Regions from separate parts of the Homo sapiens genome. Here regions 2, 3, 4, 5, 6 and 7 are each linked to region 1. Evidence: promoter capture Hi-C in 16 types of primary human blood cells and fetal thymus (Javierre and others, 2016). All regions are on one chromosome and are shown on one strand. The core of a region is centred on a gene start or on the middle of the fragment in contact, and the rest is flanking DNA. Distances in the headings are between cores, read along the strand shown. Region 1 holds the start of PCSK5 (proprotein convertase subtilisin/kexin type 5). Region 2 overlaps NMRK1 (nicotinamide riboside kinase 1). Region 3 has its middle 62 kb from the start of OSTF1. Region 4 overlaps LOC105376090 (a long non-coding RNA gene). Region 5 has its middle 110 kb from the start of OSTF1. Region 6 has its middle 130 kb from the start of OSTF1. Region 7 has its middle 150 kb from the start of OSTF1.

The links. The method cuts DNA at HindIII sites, captures the fragments that hold promoters and counts their contacts. A CHiCAGO score of 5 or more calls a contact.
Region 2: a fragment that was not itself captured here is called in contact with the fragment with the promoter of PCSK5 in region 1 in 1 of 17 cell types (M2 macrophages); the score reaches 7.2 in M2 macrophages.
Region 3: a contact is called between a fragment that was not itself captured here and the fragment with the promoter of PCSK5 in region 1, in 2 of 17 cell types (M0 macrophages and monocytes). The highest score is 6.3, in M0 macrophages.
Region 4: a fragment that was not itself captured here is called in contact with the fragment with the promoter of PCSK5 in region 1 in 3 of 17 cell types (M1 macrophages, M0 macrophages and M2 macrophages); the score reaches 7.2 in M1 macrophages.
Region 5: a fragment that was not itself captured here is called in contact with the fragment with the promoter of PCSK5 in region 1 in 4 of 17 cell types (M1 macrophages, M2 macrophages, M0 macrophages and 1 more); the score reaches 10.6 in M1 macrophages.
Region 6: a contact is called between a fragment that was not itself captured here and the fragment with the promoter of PCSK5 in region 1, in 3 of 17 cell types (M1 macrophages, megakaryocytes and M2 macrophages). The highest score is 7.7, in M1 macrophages.
Region 7: a contact is called between a fragment that was not itself captured here and the fragment with the promoter of PCSK5 in region 1, in 4 of 17 cell types (M2 macrophages, M1 macrophages, monocytes and 1 more). The highest score is 10.5, in M2 macrophages.

What each region holds. Positions count from the first base shown.
Region 1 is chr9:75,888,806-75,892,904 of GRCh38, forward strand. PCSK5 (proprotein convertase subtilisin/kexin type 5) reads left to right here and starts at 1,868. Exons shown (of 38, transcript NM_001372043.1): 1 at 1,868-2,568. The coding sequence starts at 2,377. The HindIII fragment of the contact is 12,342 bases long and covers 1-4,099 here.
Region 2 is chr9:75,081,338-75,085,436 of GRCh38, forward strand. It overlaps NMRK1 (nicotinamide riboside kinase 1), which reads right to left. Exons shown (of 9, transcript NM_017881.3): 2 at 1,750-1,813. The coding sequence starts at 1,778. Among named protein-coding and RNA genes, the nearest start is that of NMRK1, 4.8 kb to the right of the region's middle. The HindIII fragment of the contact is 5,297 bases long and covers 1-4,099 here.
Region 3 is chr9:75,148,043-75,152,141 of GRCh38, forward strand. No RefSeq gene overlaps it. Among named protein-coding and RNA genes, the nearest start is that of OSTF1, 62 kb to the left of the region's middle. The HindIII fragment of the contact is 536 bases long and covers 1,888-2,423 here.
Region 4 is chr9:75,165,421-75,169,519 of GRCh38, forward strand. LOC105376090 (a long non-coding RNA gene) reads left to right here. Exons shown (of 2, transcript XR_001746731.3): 2 at 2,745-3,142. Among named protein-coding and RNA genes, the nearest start is that of OSTF1, 79 kb to the left of the region's middle. The HindIII fragment of the contact is 1,872 bases long and covers 1,333-3,204 here.
Region 5 is chr9:75,194,028-75,198,126 of GRCh38, forward strand. It overlaps the pseudogene RNU6-1228P. Among named protein-coding and RNA genes, the nearest start is that of OSTF1, 110 kb to the left of the region's middle. The HindIII fragment of the contact is 2,673 bases long and covers 864-3,536 here.
Region 6 is chr9:75,213,681-75,217,779 of GRCh38, forward strand. No RefSeq gene overlaps it. Among named protein-coding and RNA genes, the nearest start is that of OSTF1, 130 kb to the left of the region's middle. The HindIII fragment of the contact is 2,003 bases long and covers 1,280-3,282 here.
Region 7 is chr9:75,238,555-75,242,653 of GRCh38, forward strand. No RefSeq gene overlaps it. Among named protein-coding and RNA genes, the nearest start is that of OSTF1, 150 kb to the left of the region's middle. The HindIII fragment of the contact is 1,877 bases long and covers 969-2,845 here.

The DNA of each region.
Region 1 (4,099 bases), core at 618-3,117:
TCTCAAAAAAATAAATAAATAAATAATAATAATAATAATAATAATAATAGGACGGGCATGGTGGATCATGCCTGTAATCCCAGCACTTTGCGAGGCCAAGGCAGGCAGAGCATTTGAGATCAGGAGTTCGAGACCAGCCAACCCTGTCTCTACTAAAAATACAAAAATTAGCCAGCCTGTAATCCCAGCTACTCGGGGAGGCTGAGGCAGGAGAATCGCTTGAATCCGGGAGGCGAAGGCTGCAGTGAGCCAAGATCACACCACTGCACTCCAGCCTGGGCGACAGAGCGAGACTCTGTCTCAAAAATACATACATACATACATACATACATACATACATACATACATACATACATACCTTCAATAATAAACCACATTTACTCTACAGTATTCAGAGATTCTGAATTCCACTAATTTTTTGTGCCTCCCCCTTCCCCTTTCTCCAGTGTACAGCACAATTCATTGCACATGCTAGGTGCTCAAAACAGATGTGTTGAATCAGTCAAATAAATAAACGAATAAAATACATACACTTCTGCACATGTTTTAGTTCTTCTGATCTTCTATTTCTTCAGCTATAATGTGGGGATGATGTTATTTTGTGGGTTTGTTTTCAAGATTAAATAATATAGCATACCTTATACAATATGTAAAATGTCAAATGCTATGCTCAAAGGTACTAGTGGAATTTTAAGTCTGCAGGTATCTTTCAGATTTTAAAAAATCAGTACCAAAAGCTATAGGTGGGATGAGTTAATTAATCTCAAACACATTTAAATTAACAGGAAGAAAGAAATAGGGCATGGTAGGAGGAGAGAAAGGAGGACAGTTAGGGATATAGTGAATACTTTTAAAGTCAGTTGAATTATTTCATACGGGATAATTTTTCTTGTCACAGTAAATCACCCTGTGCCCCACCCCCGCTCCAGGAAGGCAGGGAGGTTGTAAAGGAGAAGCGAGAAGAGGGTTAATTTGAGCTCCCTCCTGCCTGCTGCAGTCACAGTGCATGATAGAGTAATGAAGGTGACGCCGCCACATATCTCATCTGAACTTCCTCTGTGGTCTTTTTCATATTAAAGTCTTTCACTGTTACAGGACTGTGCTTGGAAAAGTTGGGAAACTTTTCCCTTGGTGGAGAAAAAGAAGCCCTCGTCAGACGCAATCCAACAAATGAATGGAGTTATTTCCTTGGCCCAACATGTCCATCCACTAGCACACCAAATATTCATAGAAACATCTTTCCTCACTTCCAAGGCCGGAATTGTACTCTCCCGTGGCGTTGCCTAGTATCGCAGATTTCGAAAGTGAGCAGGCAACAGACTTGGCTTTCGAGCCAATTCTAGGAGTCGATGCGACTTACTGTCCTGTGTGGTAGCTTCTCCCGGGAGCAGAAAGTGTAAAATAAACAGCTGCTGAAAAGCATGAAGAATTAACGAAGTGAAAATCTCGAGTTATTTGTTCGGCAATTGACACGTAAGTGACCTCCTTAAATGCCTAGTTATTTAAGGACGTTTAGAACGAGGATGAATGAATCTTCAGGGCGGTTAATTCGCACCGGCGTGTAAATTTCTTTAGTCTTTCGGGAAGTGGCGGTAAATTCATACAAATCCAGCAGGGAGGGAAGAGAAGGGAGTAAAACCACGATCTCGGAGCGCTCTTCTCAGTCCTTTGGAAAGACTTGCCTTTACTGCCCGGAACCCTGGAGGTTACAGCTGGGCGAACCCGGAGGCGCTAGGACCTCGTCAGCGCCTGGCTGCGGCCGCTTTCAAGAGGGCGGAGGAGGGAGAGGAGGAGGGCGATGTGGGAAAGGAGGGGTGTTAAGGGGGGCGGGGGAAGTCATTTATGCAGAGCAGGAGCTGCTGCCATTGCCACTCAGAATCCTCGCGCGCTGCTCGGAGCCGGAGGGAGCGCTGGGAGCGAGCAAGCGAGCGTTTGGAGCCCGGGCCAGCAGAGGGGGCGCCCGGTCGCTGCCTGTACCGCTCCCGCTGGTCATCTCCGCCGCGCTCGGGGGCCCCGGGAGGAGCGAGACCGAGTCGGAGAGTCCGGGAGCCAAGCCGGGCGAAACCCAACTGCGGAGGACGCCCGCCCCACTCAGCCTCCTCCTGCGTCCGAGCCGGGGAGCATCGCCGAGCGCCCCACGGGCCGGAGAGCTGGGAGCACAGGTCCCGGCAGCCCCAGGGATGGTCTAGGAGCCGGCGTAAGGCTCGCTGCTCTGCTCCCTGCCGGGGCTAGCCGCCTCCTGCCGATCGCCCGGGGCTGCGAGCTGCGGCGGCCCGGGGCTGCTCGCCGGGCGGCGCAGGCCGGAGAAGTTAGTTGTGCGCGCCCTTAGTGCGCGGAACCAGCCAGCGAGCGAGGGAGCAGCGAGGCGCCGGGACCATGGGCTGGGGGAGCCGCTGCTGCTGCCCGGGACGTTTGGACCTGCTGTGCGTGCTGGCGCTGCTCGGGGGCTGCCTGCTCCCCGTGTGTCGGACGCGCGTCTACACCAACCACTGGGCAGTCAAAATCGCCGGGGGCTTCCCGGAGGCCAACCGTATCGCCAGCAAGTACGGATTCATCAACATAGGACAGGTAACGAACTACAGGCTAGCCCAGCCCTCGGCCCTGAAGCCACTGGGGGCTTCTTGTCCCCTCTGCGTGGAACCCCCTCCCCCTCTTCCAGATGTGCTCTAGCAGCTGTTGCCCTAACTCTTGGGCGATGCTCTGTCTCCTGCGCGCGCGCGCGTACGCACACACACACACACACACACACACACACACACCCCAGAGTTGCCGGGTCCGTGTTTTGTTTACTTGTCTTTTCCAAGCCACGCGGGACTGGTAGGGTCTCGGGAAAAATCCAGAGTGCCCCCGTGGTGGCTTCAGAGACGGCTGGACCTTTTGACCTGAAAAGTCGAGTAGCACTAGTAATCTGAGGCAGTCTCAGAGAGGGTGATCGTGGGGAGAGGGGGAAATTAGGTCTTTTGGGGGATAGGGGGTGAGCGCGCCTCTGATGCCTGCGGGGAAGGGAAAGCCTTTCCTGCTCGGACCTGAATTTAGCCCAGAAAGAAGTTTCCTCTTGGGCGAGAGAACCTCTGGCGCTGGAGACTCCGGAGGCGCGGGGACTGGAGCTGGAAGGGAGGAGAAAGGAGGGGGAGGGAAGAGGGGGCCGGCCCCGGTGTGAGTGCAGATTTAGGGGAGACCTCTAGGCTTTCTCGCCTTAAGCGAGGTCCGCGTGGGGGCTCCCGGAAGGGAGTTGTAGTGGGGAGGTGGGAAACTTCCGAAACCGGCTGGCTGGGTTCCGCTCCGGGAAAACGAGGAGTCTTACCCCGGGACGGAAGGTGCCGGGCCGGGAGGTTGCGCCGTGGGGCGAGAGTTGGGCAGGCAGCAGGGGCGCGGGGTTTTTGTGGGGTGCCGCTCTCGGGCTTTTGGCAGAGCTCTCCTGCTAGGGAGAAATGCCCATAAACTAAGGTGATGCTATGAGGATGATTGGAAGCGTAACAGATTTGGAAGTACTCCGGGTTCAGTGGTCTTGGCTTTCTGGTTCTCTTCCCCCGACACCCCTGCGAGAAATGGGGGTAGAGAGGGCTATGAAAGTGGGTCCCAGAAAGTACCCCCCTCCACATACACACCGCAAGCATCTTTGGGGTTGGCCGGAGGGGCGGGCCCTGGCTGGGCTCAGGCGAGAATCCGCTGGAATGGGAGGTGAGGATGATGGATGGCGCCTTTCCAGCAGGCGCGCTTTGGGGACTGCCCGGGGTGCACGCACCCTGCGTGCTCTGCCAGGGGGAAGGGAGAGGGAGGTGCTGGCTGGTGCCGGCGGAGTGGGAGAGTACGGACAGTTTCTGAGGCCATTGCGTTCCACGCCCAGGAACCCGGGGACACCCCCCGCCCCTCCTCCCCGCCGCCTGGGGGATGCGGCACCTGGAGAGGAGGCAGAGCTGCTGTCGCCGCGTTTAGAAGGAGCTGGGGAGTGCGGGGAGTGTTCAGAGGAGCAAGAGCACAAGATCTTGCTCTTTGCCCGCCCAGAGGGAGGACATATTCCAGAGAAGCCAGCCCTGTGGAGAACTGAGACTAGGGCAAGGGGCACGGTTTGTATTCCCTCCTGCCCCTGGAACTAAGG
Region 2 (4,099 bases), core at 1,051-3,550, 810 kb before region 1:
ATCCCAGCACTTTGGGAGGCCCAGATGGGAAGATTGTTTGAGGTCAGGAGTTCAAGACCAACCTGGATAACATAGTGAGACCCTGTTTCTTAAAAGAAAAAAATTAGAAATCATGGCACTTGCTAAATAAAAGATAGTGGAAAGAAGGCTTTCTTAGGGAGTTATGGATAGTACCTAGTACACAGGACAAGACAGAAGGTAGGTTTCTAGGTATACGGCCCTGTATTGGGACATTGAGAAGAGGGAAATCTTATTTACAGAGATGCCAGATGAAGGCTGGATTGGATCCTGTAGTGGACTTTGTAGTTGCCTCTCCAGGTTCCATGTCTGTTTTCTAGGTCCGGTTGGGACTGCTCCCACTCTCAATTCCAGAACAGAACCCACTGACCTAAACCAATCAGTGTAATCCCACCTCTTTTACCATGGTGGCTGAGTGTATGTGGACCAGGCTTATCCAGCAAAGGGAGACCTATGACCTAGGGGAAGAGAAGCATTTCCCCTTCTGCCCAGTGACAGGCTATGAAGAAACAAGTCACAGGGCTCCTAGTAGATCTTTGTGACCAAAAGGATAAGCCAATTCTAAGATGAACCCAAATGAAAGACACATAAAAGAGAGAAAAACTGCCTTTGGTGATACCACTGAGCTCCTGTATCAAATTTTTCCCGCAGCCTGCTACCCCTGAGGCTAATACATTTCCTTTATTACTTACAGATGGCCTTCATACATCATGATATTCAGATTTAATTCTCAATAACTCGGAACCACTGAATATCATTCATCAGGCAGATAATCAAAATGTTCTGTATGAAGATTAAACTGATAGAGGTGTGTAGGAAAGATTAGAAGGGAAAGATGGGGACTAGGGAATGACAGCCTGTATCAGGATGGTGGCAGTGAGGGTGAGAAGGAAGAGAAACACAAGAGAAGTACTGCAGAGAAAAACTGAACTTTTCTTCTGGTTAGATGGGAGGCAAAGCAGAGTTCTAACATTTAGTTCACTCAATTTTACTTCTGATTGATGACTTACTATGGTAATGTAATACCATAACACAATGATTTCCCCAAAATTACAAACAAAGTAGTCTCAGATATTTTATTAATTGGGTCACAAACAATGTGAATATACTTAGAGTAAAGGTGAACATAATATGGTAGCAAAACAAATAATGTCATTTTCAGTTGATGTTGATGTTTTATTTGCATGCCTGCCTATGGCACCACAGGTAGGATGACCATATAATTTAGAACATGTTTGAGAGAAAGAGAGGTGCATCCAGGGCCACAAGGATTAGCTTGGGCAACATGGGACATAAGGCCACCCAAAACATGGGGGAAAGGAATGGAGGTGAAGGTGTTCTGTATACCAAATGTCTGAAGCTGGGCACAGCTGGAAAGAAACTAAGTTTTCTCCTCCATCGTGATGAAGGAGAATGATATGGGGAATGATAAATCATCCTGAATGAAAGCAGTGCCCAATCAGACCTTGTCTCTGGTGTTAGCTCCACAAAATAAATGGGAAAGTGGGTAAATGTGGTTGACTGACTCTTCTGTTTCTCTGTTTATAGAAAACTCTTCCATCTCTTGTTGGCATTTATGAAGCCAGTGCTCCACTGATATTCCACAGTGGTCTGCTCTTCCCCAGGACTCTGGAATCCTCACTGCTTCTCCGTCCCCCACTCCATCCACACAGAAACACCATTTGGACATCCTCAGTATCTTAAAGAGCTGTTTGTAGCAAAATTACTCACCCACTGATTCCAATGATAAATGTTTTCATAATTAGCTTTGAAAATCACAGCTTCCTAATATTTCCTAAAAGTAAAAAAACAAACAAACAAATCAAATGCATTTCATTTAGATGTCTAGGGAGATAAAAGAATCCTAAATTAGGAGCACCAGCTGAGAGGGGAGGATGACAGTGACCTTTCAGCCCAGCCCCGCATTATCCACATTCCCGCCGCACTGGCTTCCCCTGCTACCACTGAGTGCCAACCACTGGGGTGTGCTCAGGACTGTCAAACAGTTCAACGTCAGGTGACCTGCCGGAGCACTCCCCCTTGAACGTCTGTTTTCTGGGCGTGGAAGAACTGCTAGGCCACAGCGTGGTATATGAAGTTTCATCCTCTCCTTAGCCAGGTTGCCTTCCACCTTCACGATTCAGTCGCCTGGGTATGACTCATTATCAGTGAGGGAGGGACCCCTGTGGGCTGGCCTCTTTCTCCCCTCATGAGACAAGGAAAAAGTCACTGCTGACCAGAGGCAAAAAGAAGCTAATGCCGTTTAAAGATACTGCCCTTATGAGACAAGAAGAAAGTTACTGCTGGCCAGAGGCAAAATGAAGCTAATGCCGTTTAAAGACACTATTTCTTCACCCAAAAGCCTAGGTCTTGGGCCTGGCTAGGTACATTTTTTTTGGAAACAGGCCAGACAGTAAATATTTGACACTATGTGGGCCAAGAGGCAAAATCTAGGTTGTTATGTATGGACTTATATAACAAGAGAAAAAACATTTTCACAATTTTTTTTGATGAAATTCAACATATAATCATAATTTTTTTAACAGGTCTACTAATGACAAGAATGAAATTCCCTTTTATTGGGCTATCATTTCTCTTAATTGGATTTCTGTTGTGCTTTCTACATGAAACTGCAAATGTTCAGGCAGAGGGCCAAGTTAAGCCACCGGCCACTGTTTTGTGGATTTTTGGTTTAGGGGATGGAGGGCAGTTTCATACATGCCTCCCTAACGTTCACTAAAGTAGTCCTTGGTTATTACAATGGGCCATTTTTCTCACTAAGTGAAAAGGTGAAGCACAGCTGGAGGGAATCTTAGAATAGTGGCTCCTGAAGGTCATCCCTGAAGGCCACTCTTCTTCCTTCCTATCTGCTCAGGGGGGTTGCCAGGGACCTAGGCCGTGTAGCCAGGGGCAAGCGGCTGCCTGCCAAGCTGGAGGCTCCCAGCAATGCTCCAGTTTCTATGATCTGTGTCCACACTCTCCCTGGGGAGGGGTTATGCAGAAAAAAGCCTGGTGGGAAGAGGGCTATTGTTGTCTGACTTCTTGGCTTATCTAAATATCCCACATTGAGTACAATTGCTTAAGACTGGGGTCCACTTCCATTAACAAGTCTATGTGAGACAAGAATCAATAATGACTGTGATAAAATAGCAGCAGGGCACTGTGGCTCATGCCTATAATCCCAGCACTTTGGGAGGCCAAGGCAGGCGGATTGCTTGAGCTCAGGAGGTTGAGACCAGCCTGGGCAACATGGCAAAACGCTACCTCTACCAAAAATACAAAAGATTATCCAGGCATGGTGGCATGCTCCTGTAGTCCCAGCTACTTCGGAGGCTGAGGTGGGAGGATTGCTTGAGCCTACAAGGTGGGGGTAGCAGTGAGTGGAGATTGAGCCGCTGCACTCCAGCCTGGGTGGCAGAGTGAGGCCCTGTCTTAAAAAATAAAATAAAATAGCAGACAAGTTGCATATTTAAGTTTCATCCAGAGTTATGTTGTTGAATACACATCTCCATCCAAATTTACAAGATGTATCGAGGGAATGACTGCATACAATGAATATTGTAAAATACATTTTTATGTTGTAATTTTTCTGCTTTTGAATTTTATTTTACCCTATTCTTATTTTTTTGGTATGTCGGTTCAATGCTGCCAATTAGCCTTTTTTTGGGAAGGGAGAGGCTGCTCTTTATCTCACTTTTGTGGTGATAAATGTTCTTTCTCTTACAAAACTATGTTGTCAGAAGATGTTAGTAGAGTGATATCCTCACTTTACCAAATAAAATAAAAATTCATAAAACCTTGTCATTCCTTGCCCCCATTATTTTTGGATAGCTCGCTGAAGCATAAATTCTCAAACTTGGAGAAGTATAGCTTTAGCGATTACTTGGTCTACCCCTTCATTTTGCATAAGTGGAAACTGGCTCAGACAATAGAGCAATTTGCCTAAGGTCACACAGACAGTAAGTGGAAAAGCCAGATATTAAACTAAACCAATTGAGCTGACTTCTTTCTATCACTCCAAGCTGCTAAAAAGCACTTTATTACTAACAGCAAAGAAAGGGTGTTAGGTATGTGCTAGCTT
Region 3 (4,099 bases), core at 906-3,405, 740 kb before region 1:
ACTAGTGACAACAAAGTATGAACACAAATTCTGGCACCAACAAAAGAGGGCATTTTATTCTTAAAATAAATACGTTATTAAATTTGATTTAACCAGTTGTATTTCTTCTTAAACATAAACTTGAAGATATGAAATTCTTCCTGAAATTGTATCTATTCCTATAGATCCTTTAAGATTTTTCTTTAAAATGGGGCTTGTTTCTTAACAAAAAGCTTTTAGAGAACCCTGTAACTTTTTGTTCTTCTATACTTTGGGCTGGGGTAATTAGGATGGATTTCAACTAAAGACTCTTAATTTTTAAAACATGGGCAGAAATAATACAGCTTGTGTGGCTATAGACAATTTTTATCAAAATACCATGTACTTGCTTTAGATATATTATTTGTATATCTGAGGGAAAGAATAGTGGAGGTCTCACTATCATTGTTTTTAACATTATCAAACTTAAGAGAATTTTAGAAAGTTGGACAACTATAGTTTTTTTTTGAAGATGAGGAGAGTGCTTAGCTATGTGCATGAATTTTTGGTAAAACAGGACAACTCATTTAGTTGTGGCTGAAACTCCACTGGAAATTTTTTTGGTTTGTTTCTTGTTTATTCAGCCTGGCTAATCTGAGCTTTCTCAGAGATTGTTTAGTGCTGAACTCAGCAACAAAAATCAGTTCTAGGAATTTGCCACTGCTCTGACTGTGCAGAGGAGAGCTCTGATTATGTTTTGGAAATAACTTCAGAGGTTTTGCTGTAATCTGAGCTTGCTGACAGTCACTGTGGCCTGAACTCCTTTCTAGTGATTGCACCCTTTAAATAGGAAATGCCTTCCAGCTACTTGGGCAGTGCGATACTTGTTTAGTTGTAGGCCCAGGAGCCTCATGCAAAGAAAAATTCTTATCAGAGGTTCCCATTTCAGTTTTCTTTCTGGGCTGTTCTGTTGCACATTTTGTTGTTGTTGGGCTGACATGTATTACAGCATTTCTTTATAAGCCCCCATGGCTCCTCTTTTCAGTAGATTAATTATGTTATTACTCAAAGGGAAATGTTGAACAAAGCAATGGCGACTCCATTTTATTAATCTTAAAAAAAAAAAACTGGAAATAGGCCAGGCACGGTGGCTCACGCCTGTAATCCCAGCACTTTGGGAGGCCGAGGCGGGAGGATCACCTGAGGTCAGGAGTTTGAGACCAGCCTGGCCAACATGGTGAAACCCTGTCTCTACTAGGAAAAAAAAAAAAAAAAAAAAAAACTAGCTGGGCATGGTGGCGGGTGCCTGTAATCCCAACTACTTGGGAGGCTAAGGCAGGAGAATCGCTTGAACCCGGGAGGCGGAGGTTGCAGTGAACGAAGATTGCGCCATTGCACTCCAGCCTGGGCAATGGAGACAGACTCCATCTCAAAAAAAAAAAAAAAAAAAAAAAAAGGAAATAATGCTGAAAACGAAATTTTAGGTAATTTGCAGATAATTTTAAAGATGGAAATGTAATTTTTCCACATAAGCCTTCTTCATAAATGTTTTTTATTGTGTAGAGTTTCTGATTTACTAATTTTCTTATTGTGAGCACTATATTTATCATCTTTGTAAATGATGATTTCTTTTCTGATAGGCTGTGGAACCTAACATTTACATCTGATTATCTGCCTTCCCTATTGACTCAGACTGTGTATTTTTTGTCTTGATTTTTATATTGTAAATATGTATATTGCAGGAAAAGATTGTATAGCCAAACTTTGAAGTGTCCAATTACTAAAAGTTGAGGTTTTAGTGGGAGAAATATTGTAAAAGATTCTGGTATTCCTGTTTGCAAATATAGCTTTGGTGAACAGTTTTCTCATGTGAAGGAAAAATTGCAGACCACAAATTTGTGGCTTCTGTTTCCTTATTTCTCAATAACAAGCTTTTACATCTGCCCCTCCCTTAAAATGACATGAAATTAAATAAAACTACCATTTATGAAATGTCTACTCTTCCAGTGCCTGTGCGAGACATTTTCACAGACATGATGTCATTTGATCTTTGCAGTAACCTTAGGCGAGGAATGTTAATGCCCCAACTTTTTACAGAGACGCTGAGGTTTGAAGAAGTGAAGGAACTGGTTGAAGGTGGACACACGGGTCTGGGGAACCCACGCGCTATTGCCTGCTGCAACAGTCAGATGTCATCATTCACATTCTCTCAGAAAAATCTGCAGAAACAGGACAGCTTCTTTCCAACGGAAGCCCTTGATATAGGCATCTAACAAATTCAGCATATCTGCTAATCAATTCATAATTTATTTAAAATGACCCTAAGCGCTTCCAGAGAAATTTTCACCAAACTTTTAGTTCCCAGTAACCCTAAAGAAATATTTAATGAAGCAGGTTTTACTCCCAAGTTTCCAAAATTTCCTACTCTGTACACATTAGAGTATGAGTAAGTATAAGAGAAGGAAAGCTTAGATCAGCACCTATTCATTTTGCTTTGAGTTTACATTGCTAAGTTCAGCAGTTCTCTCAGAGAGTCTGAGAGCTCCTCACTTCTGTGTAACCATGAAAATAAATGCATCCCTTGGAAGGGTCAGGGGATGTGGTCTTACCTGAGTCTGGGAGCTCGATGTGTACATGGAGGTAAGTAACTTCACAATTCCCAGGCAGTGCTGCTGTGTCTGTCGCCAGTGGCCAGCGGCTTGGGTTTCCCAGCAGGCTCAGCCCTGTGGGCAACTGGGAGCCACAGGGAGGCCAGGTTCCTCGCGGTGCCCGGAAAAGAACACTGAGGAAATCCAAAGGTATACATTAGACAGCCTGACAGGAAGCAGGAAGGAAAGTGGAAGGAATAGACAAGGAGTGAAGAGGCTGAGCCTCAAAGGAAAAATGGTTACCTTTTCTAAATGACCCATAGTTCTGACAGAAATTAGTAGAATGCTTCGAGAAGTGGTGAGGGGTATGGGCTTTGGAATCACACTGTCTGGATTCAAGCCTGATTCTGCTGAGTGACCTGCGACAGGTTACCTAAACACCCAGATTCCCTAGCTGTGCAGTGGAGGAAGTGGTAGTATCTACTGCCTAGAGTTAGAAGGATTAAATAAAATCATATATGCAAATGACTTAGTTCCTGAAAAACTCTACTACTGAGCAGTTGCTCAGTTAATGTTGGGTATAACCATGAACAGGGAAGTCTGCATTAAAACCAGATATGTGTGTTATACAAAGGAGTGTGTCAACACGTTTTTCAGTTTCACCACCAATATTGAAGAGCAGAATTTCCTAAAATACTTTAAAAATGAGTGGAGGACAATGATGTTGCCTTCCAGTCATTTAGGTTTCTTCATATGTGGTAGTAGAGTTTTTCTTTTTCTTCTTCTTTTTTTTTTTTTTTTTTTGAGATGGAGTCTTATTCTGTTGCTAGGCTGGACTGCAGTGATGCGATCTCAGCTCACTGCAACTTCCGCCTCCCAGGTTCAAGCAATTCTCCTGCCTCAGCCTCCCGAGTAGCCAGGACTACAGGTGTGCACCATCACGCCTGGCTAAGTTTTGTATTTTTAGTAGAGACAGGGTTTCACCATGTTAGTCAGGCTGGTCTCGAACTCCTGACCTCAAGTTATCCACCCGCCTTGGCCTCCCAAAGTGCTGGGATTACAGGCGTGAGCCACTGTGCCCGGCCGAGTTTTTCAATATAAATGTACTTTATTTGAGTTACAGAGAAGAGATATATAACTGGAAAAGACCTGGTTATTACTGTTACAGTAATTCAAAGATGAAGTAGGGAGATTGTCTCTGCCACTGTTTCAGTTTTATCCTGTTGCTTTCAAGTGGTTTGATGGGCTTGATAGACCGTGGGTCTGATGTTTGATACATGATGATTTGAAATCAGAAAGGTGTTTGGTGTTACTATCCTGCTCTTACATGACTTCAAAATTCAGACAATACTATTATTCAAATGAATAGACTTTGCACCTTCATAGGTTCCCCTATAAAGTCTAAACTTCAAGAATTTAGTCTCACAGCTTCAATGACAAAAAGAGAATTGAAGACACTTTAAAGTATCATACAATCATATTAACTTTGAACAAGGTGAACAAAAAAGAACTAAATTGCATATTTTGTTATTACCCATTTCAGAAGGTGAATT
Region 4 (4,099 bases), core at 1,019-3,518, 720 kb before region 1:
TCTCCTTATTCATTTTCTGTCTAGATGCTCTATCCATTATTGAAAATGTATTGAAGTCTCCAACTATTATTGTTGAACTGCCTATTTCTCCCTTTAATTCTGTCAATATTTCTGTTGTCTGTTGTATATATGCTTATAACTGTTATATCTTCTTGATAAACTCTTTTTCATATAATGCCCTTCTTTGTGTCTTTTAATCAATTTTGATTTAAAGTCTATTTTGTCTAATTTTAGTATTGGTACCCCAGCTTTCTTTTGGTTACTATTTACATAGAATATTTTTTTCCATCCTTTTAATTTCAATCTTTGGATATTCTTGTAACAGGATGTAATTGGATCATGTTTTCTCGTCTGTTCTGCCTATCTCTGCCTTTTGATTGGAAAGTTTAGCCTATTTATATTTAAAATAATTGCTGGTAAGAAAGGACTTACTTTTGTCAGTTTGTCTTCTGTACATCTTATGCCTTTTTTGTCTTTCATTTTTTCCATTACTGCCTTCTTTTGTGATTAATTGATTTTTTTTTTTTTTGCAGATTATTTTTATTCCCTTCTCAGTTCCTTTTGTATATATATTTAAGATTTTTTTGTGGTTATTACAGGAACTACATTTAACATCCTAAAATTAAAAAACCAAAGCAAATAACTAAATTTATAACAATCTAATTAGATTGGATATCAACTTAACTCTAATAGCACACAACACTTGATTCCTATACAGCTCTGTCATCCCTCTCCTTATGCTTCTAGACACATAAAGATGTTATGACAAATTATACCTTGATGTGTCTAGAAGCATAGATTTATTATATTTTAATGCATTTTTCTTTCAAATTCTGTAGGAAATAAGTAGAGTTATAAACAAAAAATACAATAATAATCGCTTTAATATTTGCTCATGTATTTACCTTTACCAGAGGTCTTTATTTTTCTTGTATATGGCTTTGAGTTACTGTTTAGTGTTCTTTTGTTTCAATATGAAGGACTTCTTTAAATATTTTTGTAAGACAGGTCTAGTGGTAGCAAGCTGCCTCATCACTTGTTTATCTAAGAATGTGTTATTTTTATCCATCATTTTTGAAAAATTATTTGTTGGTTATAGAACTCTTAGTTGACAGTTATTTCCTTCATCACTTCACATATGTTATCCCACTGTCTTCTAGCCCAAACAGTTTTTGATAGTTTTTGAAATCAGCTGCTAATTTTGAGTCTCCCTTTTACGTGATGTGCTGCTTCTCTCTTGCTGCTTTTAAGATTATCTCTTTGTCTTTTGACCGTTTGATCATGATGTGTCTTGGTGTGGATCTCAGAGCTCATCTTACTTGGAGTTGGTTAAGCTTATTGGATTTGTAGATTCATGTGTTTCATCAAATTTGGGAAGTTTCAGCCATTATTTGAACAATAATATTGTTCAAATATTATTTTGCCCCTTTCTCTAGCTCCTCCTTTTCAAACTCTTCTGTTGTATATATTAGTCTTCTTGATGGTATCCCACAGGTCCCTTAGACTCTGTTCACTTTTTTTTTTCTTTTACTCAGACTCAGTATTTTCAATTGTCCTATTTTCAAATTTGGCCATTCTTTTTTCTGCCTACTCAAATCTGCTTTTGAACCTCTCTAGTGAATTTTAAAATTTTTTGTTCTTGTACTTTTCAGTCCAAATATTCTGTTTGGTTCCTTTATATAATTTCTACCTATTCATTGATATTCTTATTTTGCCCATATATTATTATCCTGATTTTCTTTTGTTCTGTATCTGTGTTTTCTCTTTGCTCTGTAAGCATACTTAAGACAGTTGTTTTAAAGTTTTTGTCAAGTAAGTCTGAGGTATGGGCTCCCACAGGTACAGTTTCTTTCAGTTTATTTTGTTCCTTTGAATGGGCTACAATTTCCTGTTTCCTGTATGCCTTGTGATTTTTTTTATTGTTGAAGGTTATAGTAGTCTGTTTGTTTAGTATTTTTTCCAAACTATTATTGAAAAGACTATATTTTTTATCATGTGAGGTCATAGAAGTCTTTGTTCCTTAGCTTATATTCAGCTAGTGTTCTGACTGAGATTTCCGTGAGTGCCAGGAACTAAAAACAAAACAAAACAAAGGGAGAGAAAGGGAAAACCACCTCTACTAATCTTTCCAGACTGCCTCTGTATATGTGCATGTGTGCCCTTCCTTCAACAGTTAGCCATCCTCACACTGAGTCTACAGATCAACTCAAGGTGAAAGTGTAGGGTCATCTTAGGTCTTTCTTCTGTATGTGTTTTGTCCTGGGTGTGTACATGGCTTTCTAAATTCCCAGTATACATGACTACTTTTGAATGTCCTGATTTCCTAAAGAAATTTTCCTCAGCCTTTGCCTTGGGCAACTTATTTTATGTTTTGACTATAATCTTTTGTCCCAGGCACCTGAAAGTTGTTAGTTGGGCTTGTAGTATTTGAGAGCATTGCTTTTTTGGCCTGATTTCTGAGGTAGAAAAAGAGATGTTTGCTTTCCATCACTCCTTCAGGTAGTCCCCAGACAGGTTAGAACAGACATACATGATTTGTGGATAATATCTGCTCTGCTCCACTCCCTCTTGAATCAGAGGAAAGCGTCCTACACTAAGAATGCAGGCAGCCCCTGCTTCAAGACCAAATCTGCTATAAAATCACCACAAACTTTCCTAACATTTTGTTGTGCTTTTTTTAATTCAGTTTTTGTTTGCTAGAGTTCTGAAAAAGTTGATTCTGATAGTTTATTCTTGTTTTTTAGAGTTTCTGTGGGAAATGAGAACTGCAGCTGCCAACTTCACCATTTTGCTGATGTCACTAAGTGCAAGTTTGACTTTTCAATTAGACCATCTATGCCTAAAGAGTAAGAGCTGTGGTTAATCTTCATAGTTGTGTTTTTCTCAGCATTTAGTGTACAACTTTATATAAAATTGAATTCAATGTATATTCAACTTGAACAGTGCTGTATTCATCATTTACTGTACATTCTAGTGTTAAGTCATATATACATTCATTCATTCAACAATATTTATTGACCTCTTGTATTCAAGGCATGCCCTAGCTGAGTTATAAGGGTGAATCATAGAGGTAAGATTTCATTCCTAAAGGAGTGAATATCTAAAGAAGGGAAGACAACAATAAATAACATTAACAAAGCAACAGGTTGGTTTGTGTTTCCTTGGAAAGATGGCTCTTTTGGTGCTGACTTCTTAGATAACAGAAGCTTCAGACTAGGCTCTGGGGAAGGATCTGAAAGCAATCCCTCTTCCTGGACTTGGTGGTTTGTGCTTGTAGTCCCAGTGACTCAGGAGGCTGAGGCAGAAGGATCACTTGAGCCCAGTAGTTTTGAGTCCAGTCTTGGCAACATAACAGGACACTGTCTCAAAAAAAAAAAAAAAAAGTAACCCCTCTCCTCTTTCTGACTTCTTCCTGTACCCTTTGGGTTTGGAGAAGAAACTGTGGACATTCAAGGAAGTGCTGAAGAGGGGACAGCTCCTAGTTCTCCAACTCTTTTGTTATTTGTTTGAAAATTCTGAAATCTAACTCTTGGCTCAACTCCCTTGTTTAGCTTTGGCTTTGAGGCGCCTGAAATTTATCCCCCAACTTCCCCTGCAACCTCTACTCTCTAAATTGAGGATTGCTTAATTCCTTATTTAATATTTCAAATGTGGATTGTTGTATCTTGAAAAATATTCTCTGGAGGCATAACATTTAATTAAGTTTCGTCAGGGTAATGGCAAGGAAATTAAATTACATATTGTTTTTGTCAGAGTAGTCAACTAGAGTGCCACTTGCATGTCAAGCCTTTTTCTCAACAAAGGTTTTAAGAATATTTATATGCTTGGAGAAGATTTTTGTTTTTGAGTTGATTGCCTTTCATATTCATATTATTCTACCACAGTCTACAAATAAAGGACAAAACAAAACATCAGAAAGCAAAATTGCCTTGATGAAAAAAAAATATAGTGCTATTTTAATCTTAACCTTAAAGTGTTTACCCCTGTGGGTAATGGTATCATCTGAAGGGAATATAAGTGCCACATGCTTACACTAAGTGAGTAAAAGAGTATCTGTGAAGTTATTCAAAAGGATAGAAGAGATGAAATTTTTTTTTTT
Region 5 (4,099 bases), core at 950-3,449, 690 kb before region 1:
TTCCTTCCTCTTTCTTTCCTTCCTCCTCCTTTCTATCTCTCTCTTTTATTTGCTTAAGTGGCAAGATAATATTTTGAGATATAAACTAAAATTCCCTCCCTATAGGTTTTGTATCTCTTCGTCAGTCTGATATAGTATGAAATTTATCTTTATACCGTAGAGATGGGCTGACACAGAGCAGATTGCAGGTAAAAGAAAAGTAATTTTTAACTTTTGTATTTTTGAAGTTAAGACCAGGCAAACACAAAGTTTGGAAAACCACATGAACAGTTAGAGCCAGTTCTCCCACATAAATACTGGATAATGTCTGCCTGGACTTGGGAGGAGCAGAAGAGAATCAGAGGGAAGGTAAGGTTATGGGTCTTCGATGGGCCAAGTTCTGGGATTTGGAGGGAGGAGGAGAGTGATAGAATCCTCTAGTACATTTCGGGATTTGAGAGCAGGGAAGAACTCCTTGCAGAGGAATTAAAACTCACAAGTAAACAGAAACGTCTCAAAATAATGTTAGGAGGATTTTGCCAAGTGTTGATTTAGGGCTTTTTGCATTTGGATGATTACAGAGGCAGAGAAAAAGTGGGAGGTAGAGGGAGAGGGTGAGAATTAGCACTTCCAAGACTCTTACTACAGTCCAGATATTTCTATCTCAACAATAGTTCAGTAAGGCTTTGGGTCAATATGGATCATTTGGTTATAATTATGTACGGAGTATTATTTTCTCCAAATCACCATAATGACAACCAATATTACATACACAGAGATAACTTTCCTGGAATTTGCCTGATGTCAAAATGTATTTATAGTTGCTCTCAAGCCACTTTACAAATAAACAAAAGAAACCATTTTGAAAGCTTAAAAGTTCACAAAGCTTCATTTCCATTAAAATCTAATCTGAACAAAATATACCAATCTAGTTCCACATAATGTTGAAATGTGACTTCATTTCTAACCTGCCATATAGTCTAATTTAAGAAATAGCATTACACAAATAAAGTATCTCTTTATGGCTTCTAGTAATGAATTCCATCTTCCTGTTTACATCTATCAAAAAGTTATAGCTCGGCTTTGCGTGGTGGCTCACGCCTGTAATCCCAGCACTTTGGGAGGCCGAGGCGGGTGGATCATGAGGTCAGGAGATCGAGACCATCCTGGCTAACACTGTGAAACCCTGTCTCTACTAAAAATACAAAAAACTAGCCGGGTGTGTTGGTGGGCGCCTGTAGTCCCAGCTACTCGGGAGGCTGAGGCAGGAGAATGGTGTGAACCTGGGAGGTGGAGCTTGCAGTGAGCCGAGATCGCGCCGCTGCACTCCAGCCTGGGTGACAGAGGGAGACTCCGTCTCAAAAAAAAAAAAAAAAAAAAAATTACAGCTCAAGAGTAAAAATATTTGCAAATATGGTTTGACCTTATTTCTGCTATTGTTTTACTTCCACTTCTCTCAGAGTTTATTCTGCTAATTCTGCCCTTTACTCTGCACCTGACTCTGCCCTTGCCACTCCACTGAAGGTCCTCTTTTCCAGGTTGCCAGCATCCCCTGCACTGCTGAACCAATGCATCCCTTCTCTGCCTTGACCTAACTTAGTCTCCCATAAACAGCCAACAGTATTGTTCATGCTCTCCCTCTTGATATTTCCACACCCCCATTTATGTTTGTCCACCATCATTTTTGGATTTTTCCCCTTCCACTTTTAAACTTCCCCAAAAGCTCTTCTTTTTCCTCTCCATTCCTTAAACATTGGTGATTTTTTGATGTATGTCCTCAGTCTTTTTTTTTTTCTTTTTATTCATCCTCATTCTCTTCCTGAGAAATATCTTGTTGTTTCAAGGCTTTAATTATCAGCTATATGCTTATTGTTAAATCTACATCTCTGATCTAGCTGCTTCTTCTGAGCCCCAGACTTATGTATCCAACTGCTTACTGGGCATCTCTGCCTGGATGTCCCATAGTCCCTCAAACCCTATATGCCCAGATTGGAACTCATCCTCCCCACAAGCCTGTTTCTCCTGTGCACACCTATCAGTGCCTGGTATTCCAGGTCGCATCTTAACCAAGCTAGAACCCTGGAGGTCCCATTTGACTCCTCTCTCTCTGTGAACCCCCATCCGTATTAGTCTATTTGGCTGCTATGACAAAATATCATGGGCTAGGTGACTTAAACAACAGAAATTTATTTTCTCATAGTTCTGGAAGCTGGAAAGTCTAAGATGAATGTGCTGGTAAATTTAGTTTTTGCTGAGGGCTTTTTTCCTGGTTTACAGATGGCCACCTTTTTAATGTGTCCTTACATGGCGGGCAGAGAGAAAGAGAGAGAGCAAGTTCTCTGGTTTCTCTTCTTATAAGGAAGGACACATCCTATTGGATCAGGGCCCCATACCTATGGCCTCATTTAACCTTAATTGCTTCTTTAGAGGCCCTAGCTCCAAATATAGCCACATAAAAGTTAGGGTTTCAAAATATAAATTTTGTCGGGAGTTGAGAGGGACACAAAGTTTCAGTTCTTAAAACCATCCATCAGTCACCAAGGTCTTTAATTCTTTGTAATAAATAGTGTGTGAAATGCCCACTTCTCTCAACCCCGTGGTCATTAGTTAAGTTCTGACACCATCATCTTTCTTTCACCTGATTTACCACAGCAAGAATCCTTACTGTTTCCCTGCTTCCAGTCTAGCCCTCTCCCATCTAGTCCCTACACTGCAGCTAGGGTACCCTGTCTCAAATGCAAATCTGATCACATTACCCTTCTCTTAAATCTTTTCAACGACTCTCACAATAAAGCCCAGTCCTGTTCATGTGGCTTATGAAGACCTCTGTGACCTGGGCTTTGCTTGTCACCCCAGTCTTACCTGTGACAGCTCCCCACTGTCTTAGTCTGTTTTGTGTTGCTGTAAATGAATACCTGAAGCTGGGCTGTTGATAAAGAAAAAAGGATCATTTGGCTTATGGTTCCAATGACTGGAAAGTTCAAGATTGGGCGTCTGCAATGGGTGAGGGCCACAGGCTGCTTCCACTTATGGTGTAAGGGGAAGGGGAGTCGGTGTGTGCGGATATCACATGCTGAGAGAGGGGACAAGCAAGAGAAGTGGGAGGCGCCAGCTCTTTTTAACAACCAATGTTTGAGGGAATTAATAGAATGAGAACTCACTCACCCTCACCCCCCGTGGGGGGCATTAATGTATTCATGCAGGATCCATCTCCATGACCCAAACATCTTCCATTAGGCCCCACCTCCCAATATGGCCACACTGGGGATTAAATTTCAACATAAGGCTTAGAGGGGACAAACAAACATCCAAACTATAGCACCCACCTTGTGCTCAGTGCTCCAGGCTTAAGAAGCATCCACTTTCCCCAAGGAACTATATTTTTTCTCTTGCACGTCTTTAAGAACTTACTGTTTTTTTCCTGCAATTGTGTTCTGCTCCTTCTCCCTCCCTCCTTTCCTTTCTTTTTCCCTGTCTCCTCCCCAGCATCTGAAGAGCCTGGCTAATGTTTCCTCATCTCTCAGGTCCCAGCGTTGTCAACACCACTTTCTCCCAGAAGCTTTTCCTACCCTCTAAGGTTGAGCGGGTGTCCTTCCTCCAGAGGCTCCTTTGCTTACTCATTTCTTCTTACTGTGTCCCAGAGTCTAGCACAGAGCTTGGCACAAAGCCAGCTTTCACTAATTAGAAATGGATGAATACATCTCACCCACCGTTTAGGCCAGTTAATCAGGCAATAAACCCGTTCTATTCTGGTAACAGTGTCCTCCACCTCTGAAGGAAAAAGTAAACCACATCTACATTATGTCAGTGTGCTATTTTAGGGGAGTCAGCAGGTGATGTCATAGGACAGAGCTCTGCAGGGTGGGTGGGAATGGTCTTGGATGCAGGGAGATCAGCTCAGCCACTGTGTAGGAGGGACGTCTTCATGTCTTCTCATTTGCTGCCAGGCCGTCATGACAGCTTTCTGTCTCTATGTGAATGAATGACTGCAAACCTGAGAGGTATTTAAAACATCCAACAACTGCTATGGCTGCATAGATAAATAAGTGAATAAGAAAATGACAGTGCTCGCTTTGGTGGCACACATACCAAAACTGGAATGATACAGAGAACATTAGCA
Region 6 (4,099 bases), core at 1,031-3,530, 670 kb before region 1:
ATCAGTAATATGCCCTTTTGCCTGTTAGATACCCTCAGCTTTCATCACATTTATTCTAATCCAAAGCAGTGGGAAAACAGTTTTAGATAATTTTTTTTCCAACTTCTGCAAGTGGTAAAATGCACAAGTGTTAAGCTCGGATGAGTGTTACTTAAAATGATTAGTCAACCTAGCCTCAGAAACTAGTGATATCATGAAGTTGTGCTTTTAATGTGAGAGTCTCAGGTGCCCAATTCTTTCCCTCAATAGTTCACTGTGGCAGACAGTGTTGAATTTCACCGGAGCTCTGAAAACGGTAACAGTTTTCTGTTCTGGTTAACAGCTTGTCACCAACCAACCTTCCCATGTGACTTAGATAAGACTTCTTGTCCACTCTTGACTCTTTCTCATGACAAATAAGATGCACAGATGACTCTCTTGTTTACCTGTGACAAGGCCAGATACACACCCTCCAATTTCACATGCTTTTTCTTATGAATAATTAGATGAATTTTTTGTCCTCCTGTAACTAGCTAGACACAGAGATAAACATTTTCTTTTAAGCTGATTGACCGAGACTTCTCCTGATTGCAAAATCAATCTTGACTGTAAACCACCCCATTTATAACTGTCTACACCTACCTATAAAGGTATAAGACAAAGCCACCCTGCTGGGACACTCTGATCCTCAGATCTGGGGTGCTCCCCATTGCTATAGCCAGAATAAACTCAATTTCTGTGCTTGTTCGGTTCTTGTCTTTAATGAGCCATCTCAGGTCTCATAGATGAATTCCATCTCTCCTGGCCCAAGTGTGTCTGTGCATTTGTACATACATGAACACTCATGTGTGTATGTCAGTATCCTAAAAGAAAGTGTATACATCAATATCCTAAAAGAAACATTGGAACTTACATTGAATATGAGTAGCAAACTTCAAAATTTTATAATAGAAAACTCCCATGCTCAGTGTATATTGGTGCTACCATCATAGATTCAGAAGCATGACAAATGCTGCTTAGAGAAATCTCACCAGTGACTATTGCCATTTAAGATTCATGCTGAGGACCAGGATAGTTTTTTGTCCAGGTTCATTTAGATTTTCTTTCATTCTAGGAAGCTGTATGTAATAAATCTGTTTTTTGTGTTGCTCCCTTCACCTGTTATAGTTAGAACCTGTATATAACCAGAGCACCACGAGGCCAAATCTCTAGCAAGTGCAAATTCAAAGAAGCAGTAATCTGACAAAGTGTAATTGATTGCAAGCAAATTGTAAATGGAAGTTCTCAAAGGACAACAAGAAGCTTCTTAAAACCTATTCTTTTTTTCCCCATCCATCTCTTAATCACCCCAAAACTTTTCAGTTGACTGTTTTCTCCCTCCACTTCTACATACTGAATGACACCATGTAGAATAGTAGTGTTTGCCCTCTCTCATCCTCTGAAGACATTTCTTTCCTTGCTCACTTAGTTTCTAGGCTTTTGAAATGTAGAATTAAGGTGAGTAGGAAATGAAAAAAACAAAATAGGACTGAGGTTTACTCATGGAAGAAAAAAAGAGTAGTGATTAAAGGGAAATGAGTGTGTGTGTGTGTGTACACAATAGAAAATCACAACTTCTATGTAATTCAGTTTACTTAACACAGAATTTTGCATACAGTAAATTCTTAGGAACTATTTGAAACACATTAATGACTTCCAACTGTTTTTTTTTTTTTAAAAAGCAGTGGAACCATGTTTTTTAAAAAAGAAATATTAAGTAGAACTTTAATAAACAAAATAAAACTGAGGTTTGGACAAAGAGCCTGAATATCTGTGTAATCTGCTTCTCCTCCTGGAGAAGACAGTTTGAAAAATAGTTAGAAATTCCAGCTCAATAAAAGTATATGCTATTAATTTTTAAAATTAAGAAACAAATCATCATTGATTTTTTCTTATTATAAAGGCAACATGTTTATTTAGAGGAAATTAAAAATATAAATAACTACTGCATATCTCATAATTTCAGCACCCCAAGATAAACTTTATTAACAATACTGTTAATATTTTCCTGTCCAGTCACCGATTTTTAAATCTGTATCAGTGTTTCAATATATCAGTGTTTTAATATGATGATGCCATGGTTTTTTTGTTTCTGGTTCATAGAAAGAATCATATAACGTCATTAAAGGCTCAAAAATGATCTTACATGCTGTCAAAAACACATTAAACTGTGGTCTCCAGGTTATTTAAAAATTGACTTTCCTTTGAGATTTTTTTCTTAGAGTTTGCTGTTATCTGCCGCATCAAAGGTAATGATCTTTCTCCCCATTTCTTACACCTGAGTAAATTTTCTGGATCCATTGGATTTGGTTCATAAATACCCAAGCAAATGAACAGTCAAAATGGTCTAATTAAACTGCGCTGCATTCCGCTTCCCCTGTCATAAAGGTCAGAACCAGGCTTCAAGTCTGCGAGCGCAGTAGCAGCTGGAAAAAAAATGGCACTATAGGACCTTGAGAGGTCTCCACAATTTTACAAGATGCTGTCACTCTTAACCTACGGATTCTGTTTAGTCAGTTTATTAAGGAAGGCTAGGACACTAATAAAACGGGGCTGAAATGGGGGTTTGAGATTAACTGTGAAATTGATTTATCCTTGTTATGCATGACTCTCATTTGCCCAGATAACTGAGAATTACCTTCTTTTCCTAAGGAAAGAACAGTTCTGGTTTGGAGGAGATAAGAGGGTAAATGAAAGAAGGGACATGGGATTTCTAAGCAACACTCTGCCCCCACTTCTACCTCAAGCAGTTAGGGCAAAAAGAGTCCACTGTCTTTCATAGCAAAGCCAAGTTTCAATCGCTCAGTTGACTTTAAAAAGTGCAAAGCATGTTCTGCTTTATGTTTTAAACTCTTGACCCGTGATCATTATCATGTAAGAACCATATCAATTACCATAACTGTAATTGCATTGCTTTTAATAATATCTAGAAAATCATGCACATTAATAGTGGAGCTTTCTATCTCTGTTGAAGAACAATTACTCCTAAAAATTTATTATACTATGAAAGTAGATGATTTTTATTTCATTTTTTTGTGCAAAAGAAATCCCAGCATGGAAGTACCTTTTAAAAAATTGTTTTTGGGAGAAATACATTAAGTTTTTTCAACAAGATCTTTCAGTGCAGGAGTAATTTCACATTATAGAAATGCAAATTTTTTTCCTTCAGGATTAATGTGCTTATTTCTTGACTGATGATCAGCCTTTTTATCTGGCAGGGGTGGGATAAGCCCAGTTTGACTACTTATATGTTTTGTTTTACAAAGCTTTATAGTTCCTGTGCTATTTTGTTTTGCCTGTAGGCTATAACAGCTTAAAATAATTATTTTAATATCTGGAATTGATAACAGCAGTCTAAAAAATACAGCATTGTTTGCACTATATCTTCACTTAGAAGGTAATGGCTGTAATAAGATTGAACTCTTCTATGAATTAATCACATTGCCTGCTTCATCCTTCCAGTGAATTCTATTTTTTGAACAACGTACAGAGAAACACTGTAAATTTGTAGGTTGTACTTGCTTTTATCTCTTTGGTGGTAATATATTTGTTGAACAGATAGCAACTATCTTTATGGAGGACCACCATGCTAAGGTAATATTTTTAGGGTTTTGGTTACTAAGTGGATTTCTGATTGTTTTATAGTTTCCAAGGTCAACTGCTGATGTACATTTCTTTTCCCATATAAAAATGGGTGCACCAAAATTTCACGAATCACCACTAAAGAACTTCCTCGTGTAACCAAATACCACCTGTACCCCAATATCTTATGGAAAATAACTCTTGATAAAAAGATTACTTTCTTAAGAAGCAAATATAATTTCTTTCTTTCCAGTTCTTTTTTTCTATAGATTTTTTTTTTCTTTTCAGCAACGTTTCCCCTCAACATTATTTCTTTTCTCTGAAAACAATCGCCAAGTGGATATATTCTGGGGTCTTTTCTCAGTGATATTTTGTTCCGTAAGAAATAATAATCATTAACATCACTACAAATCATCACAGTTGGTCTGATTTTGTGTTTGAGTATAACCTATTATCAACTAAGTTGAAAAGAAATACCTTTATTTATTTATTTATTTAT
Region 7 (4,099 bases), core at 657-3,156, 650 kb before region 1:
ATTTCACTGGCATCCTACACAGTCCATATGGCTGCCTATATTCACTCAATCAGCGTGTGGTCACCTTGCCCTTGTGCCAACCACCTACTTATTAGCAGTCGCTGATGGAGGGAGGGGTGTCATAACAGAGGCAAGTTTTTCCATCTCAGGCGGAATGGAATATACTATTTGCCCCCTTGTCCCACAGATGAAGCATCCAGGCGGGCAGAGGTTCCCCTGGATGCTGGTGGCACTGTTTAATTCCCACAGGTCTGTGTGGCACCCTGTAGGAACTGAGCATGCACTTCCCACAGCACAGTCTCAAACACCCATCCAACTCTGCCGGCAAAGGTTGGTTCCTTCTCGGTGTTCTGTGCTTCCAGCTGTTTCAGCTCTTTCTCCACACTTGTGGGGGACCCATCTACCACTGCCCAGGTTTCCACCAGAGCCCATCCGAGCAGCACATCTGCCACCAGTTCCCACAATCCATGTTGTGGCCACATAGCCAACCTGGAATCAGCAGAGACTTAAGGCTCACTCACCTTGGGATTCTGCTCATAGTGCCAATTGTCAGGTTCTAACTGAGGTCTGAGGGGAGTGGGTGGACAAGTGGCAGGCAGCTGAAAGAACATTCGAAGAATTGCAAGGAATTTCAACATGGCTTTATTGTCTCTCTGGGTGCAAGTGGGCTGTGGGCACAAGCAAGCCATATGTACAGCATCAGCAAGGTAGTTATACCTTTTACAGACAATAGTGGCTCCAAGCCAAGCGTGAGGGCACTTGAGTGGTTACTTAATGCACCTCACATGGTGTGGTTACATAATGTGCCTCATGTGGCATGGTTACATAACATGTGGAACCGTGCGCCTGCACTCCAAACCCTCTGAGTCATGTTGCATCAGAAGGCTGCCTCGGCCTGTTCCTGACTAAAGCACGGCCATTTTCCTTACACATATGAAGCCACATGGAGAGGGGATAAATCCCATGGAAGCTTTCTCTGGCTTTCTGCCTGCTTAGTATACAATATGCAAGTGGATTGGCGGCTGGCATGGCTTTGCTCAGTTATCCTTTCAGTAGCTCCCATCTTCTCAGTGAAGACCACCTCTCTTTTGTGAATCCTGACTCTTCTGTTCATCTGAATCAAGCCCTGTTCTCTTTCTTCTCTCTTTCCCAAGTGCTTTGTTGTACCATTTAGACACTGTAATACTAATAACACTTCTTTCTGCCCCACTAGACTGTTAAGCCTTCTCAGGCAGTAACCTGCTCACTCATTCATTTGGCTATGTACCTAATACAGTGCTTCTATATAATTGATTCTCACAGAAATTAAAAAAATAAATGATTGAAAAGGGGCTTCTGCTCTCTCCATCTTTTTTTTTTTCTTTTTCAGATGGAGTCTCGTTCTGTCACCCAGGCTGGAGTGCAGTGGCGCGATCTCAGCTCACTGCAAGCTCTGCTTCCTGGGTTCGTGCCATTCTTCTGCCTCAGCCTCCCCAATAGCTGGGACTACAGGCGCCCACCACCACATCTGGCTAATTTTTTGTATTTTTAGTAGAGGCGGGATTTCACCATGTTAGTCAGGATGGTCTCGATCTCCTGACCTCATGATCCGCCCGTCTCGGCCTCCCAAAGTGCTGGGATTACAGGCATGTCTCTCCATCTTCTTGACTTGGATGTTTATAGCTTTTCTTCCACAGTTCTCCAAGTTAAGGTTCAGGTGAGAAGATCTTTGTGGAAGGCAGTTGCAGCAGTGGAAGAGTGGAAGCTGATGCCTTTATCTGTGTTTCACAAGTCGAGGTGGTCAGCAGAGCTGCAGAACTGTTAGGAGAACTGGGGAGTCAAGCTCTGTCACTTTCCTGATCTGAATGACTCTTGAAAGATCTAAAATGAGGGCCTCTCTGAGGTGGGGGAACTGATTGAAGCAGGGCAAAGAAATAAAAATTCTTACCATTTCATGAATAGTGACACAGAGGATCTCACCTCTGTGTCTGGCACTTAGCAGACATGCAGTAAATATTTGTTGGGTGAACTTGTCTGCCATAACCTAAGAAGGCATCAGTTCACAGGGACTTCAAGTAGCTTCTAATGTGCAGCTTGGCTCCATTTCTGTTGCTTTCCTAGTATGACAGAATTACTATTAAGTTGAGATGATTCATTAGTCATTTCCAGAACAGTTTTATTGGGATGACTATTACCATGTATTTAACTTCTCAGATCTCCATAGCATTTTATTGCTGATTATTATTCCACTAATCCATTCAACGGTGATGGAGCTGTATTCAGTCTTAGTAAGGGCCAATCTATTCAGCTAGCTGCGTGTCCAATGAGCCACCAGTTAAAATCCCCACAGAGGCCCTCCCAGATAATACAGGACCTTTAATTAAGTGGTGTTAACAAAGATCACACAGATTTTCCTTTGATGTTTTTATTAGCCAAATATTATAGTGATCGATGATTACCATTGTATAGAAAATATACTAATGAAGATTAAATTAAAATAGGTTTCAAGGTACCAGCATGCAGGAAATCAAGTTCTTTAGAAAAGAAAGAAAAGATGATTGATAGGTATCTGGGATTTTTGTGTTTACATGTATACCTACAGAAACCAATTTAAACAGTGTTCTTTTTGTTTTGGTCTCCTTGAAAGAGTACTATAAACTCTTCTGATCTAAGATGTATTGATATATAGAGAAGGAAGGCAAATATCTATGAAATATAGTTACAAAACAAGGGTTTGGGTTGTTGAAAGTGTTATACGTGCCATTCTATGAAATTAGAATTTTTGATCTACATGATGAGTTAGTGTTATGTGTCAGATGCTTTCTAGCAGCGGCAGCAGAAATGTTTTCTTGGGAGAAGGAATGAAAGCTTATATGGAACCCTGATATATATATATATATAAAATATGTATATAATATAAGAATATATATAATATATAAGAATATATAATATATTATAAGAATATATATAATATATAATATAAGAATATATATAATATATAACAAGAATATATATTATATAAGAATATATTATATATTATAAGAATATATAACATATTATCAGAATATATAATATATAATATAAGAATATATATAATATATAAATATATATGCTATATAAGAGAACTGATTCAGTTGAAAACAGAACTTGATCCTCCCACACCCCCACTTCATAGCTCCTTTGTCTCCACATACCATCCAAGAAGAAGCATATTTCTGGAACTCTTGAGCTCTGTACAGTTTGTAAACTGTTGCCCCATTGAGTAAATTTTAGAGAAGCATTCTCTAGTGTGAAAGTGGACCCCTTTTCCTTCCTGAAAAGACAACTGAGGCAACTTCAGTCACCCTCTTGGCCCCTGAACGTTGTTTATTCAATAGCAGTGGTAATAGCCGATATATCAGCTCAATTTTAAAACATTTCATTTGTTTAATCTTTAGCTTTGATGCTGGGGGGATCCTCAGGAAATATGTTGCTTGTTCTTTTGAAAATCCCAGTAGACAACAGGTGAAAAGTGTAAATAATGAGTCTCAGAACTTGTAATTAGCCCAATAGGGAAGAGCAGCTCAACACATCCAAAATAGAAGACACACCATAGCCGTCACCCTGTCCTGAAAGTATCTCTGCTAGGTTTCGTTTCTTTTTCTTTTCTCCTTTTCTTTTTCTCTTTTTTCCTTTTTCTTTTTCTCTCTTCTCTCTCTCTTTGTCCCTCTCTCTCCTGTCTCTCTCTCTTTCTCTCTTTCTCTTTCTCTCTCTTTATCTCTCTCTGTCTCTGTCTCTCTCTCTCTCTTTCTCTTTCTCTCTCTCTCTCTCTCAATTCCAACATCTAACAAAGTATTCCACACATAGGAGTTATTCAATAAATAGTTGAGACTCAAGAGTAATTTGTAGAATTTTTAGACTTTTGAGACAGATGCAATGAACAACTCTATTTTATATCACCATTTAGCAGAGTAGTCACATTTTGGGAATTTGTATAGAAGAAAGCACTGAAGACGTCTCATGATTCAGGCTGCAGTCTTGCCTTAGAACAAATGAGTTGGGATGACATTAAAGCCCAGAGAAGCTAAATTATTTGCCCAATTTCCTTATCTATAAAATGAGGAAGTTCAGTCTGATGATC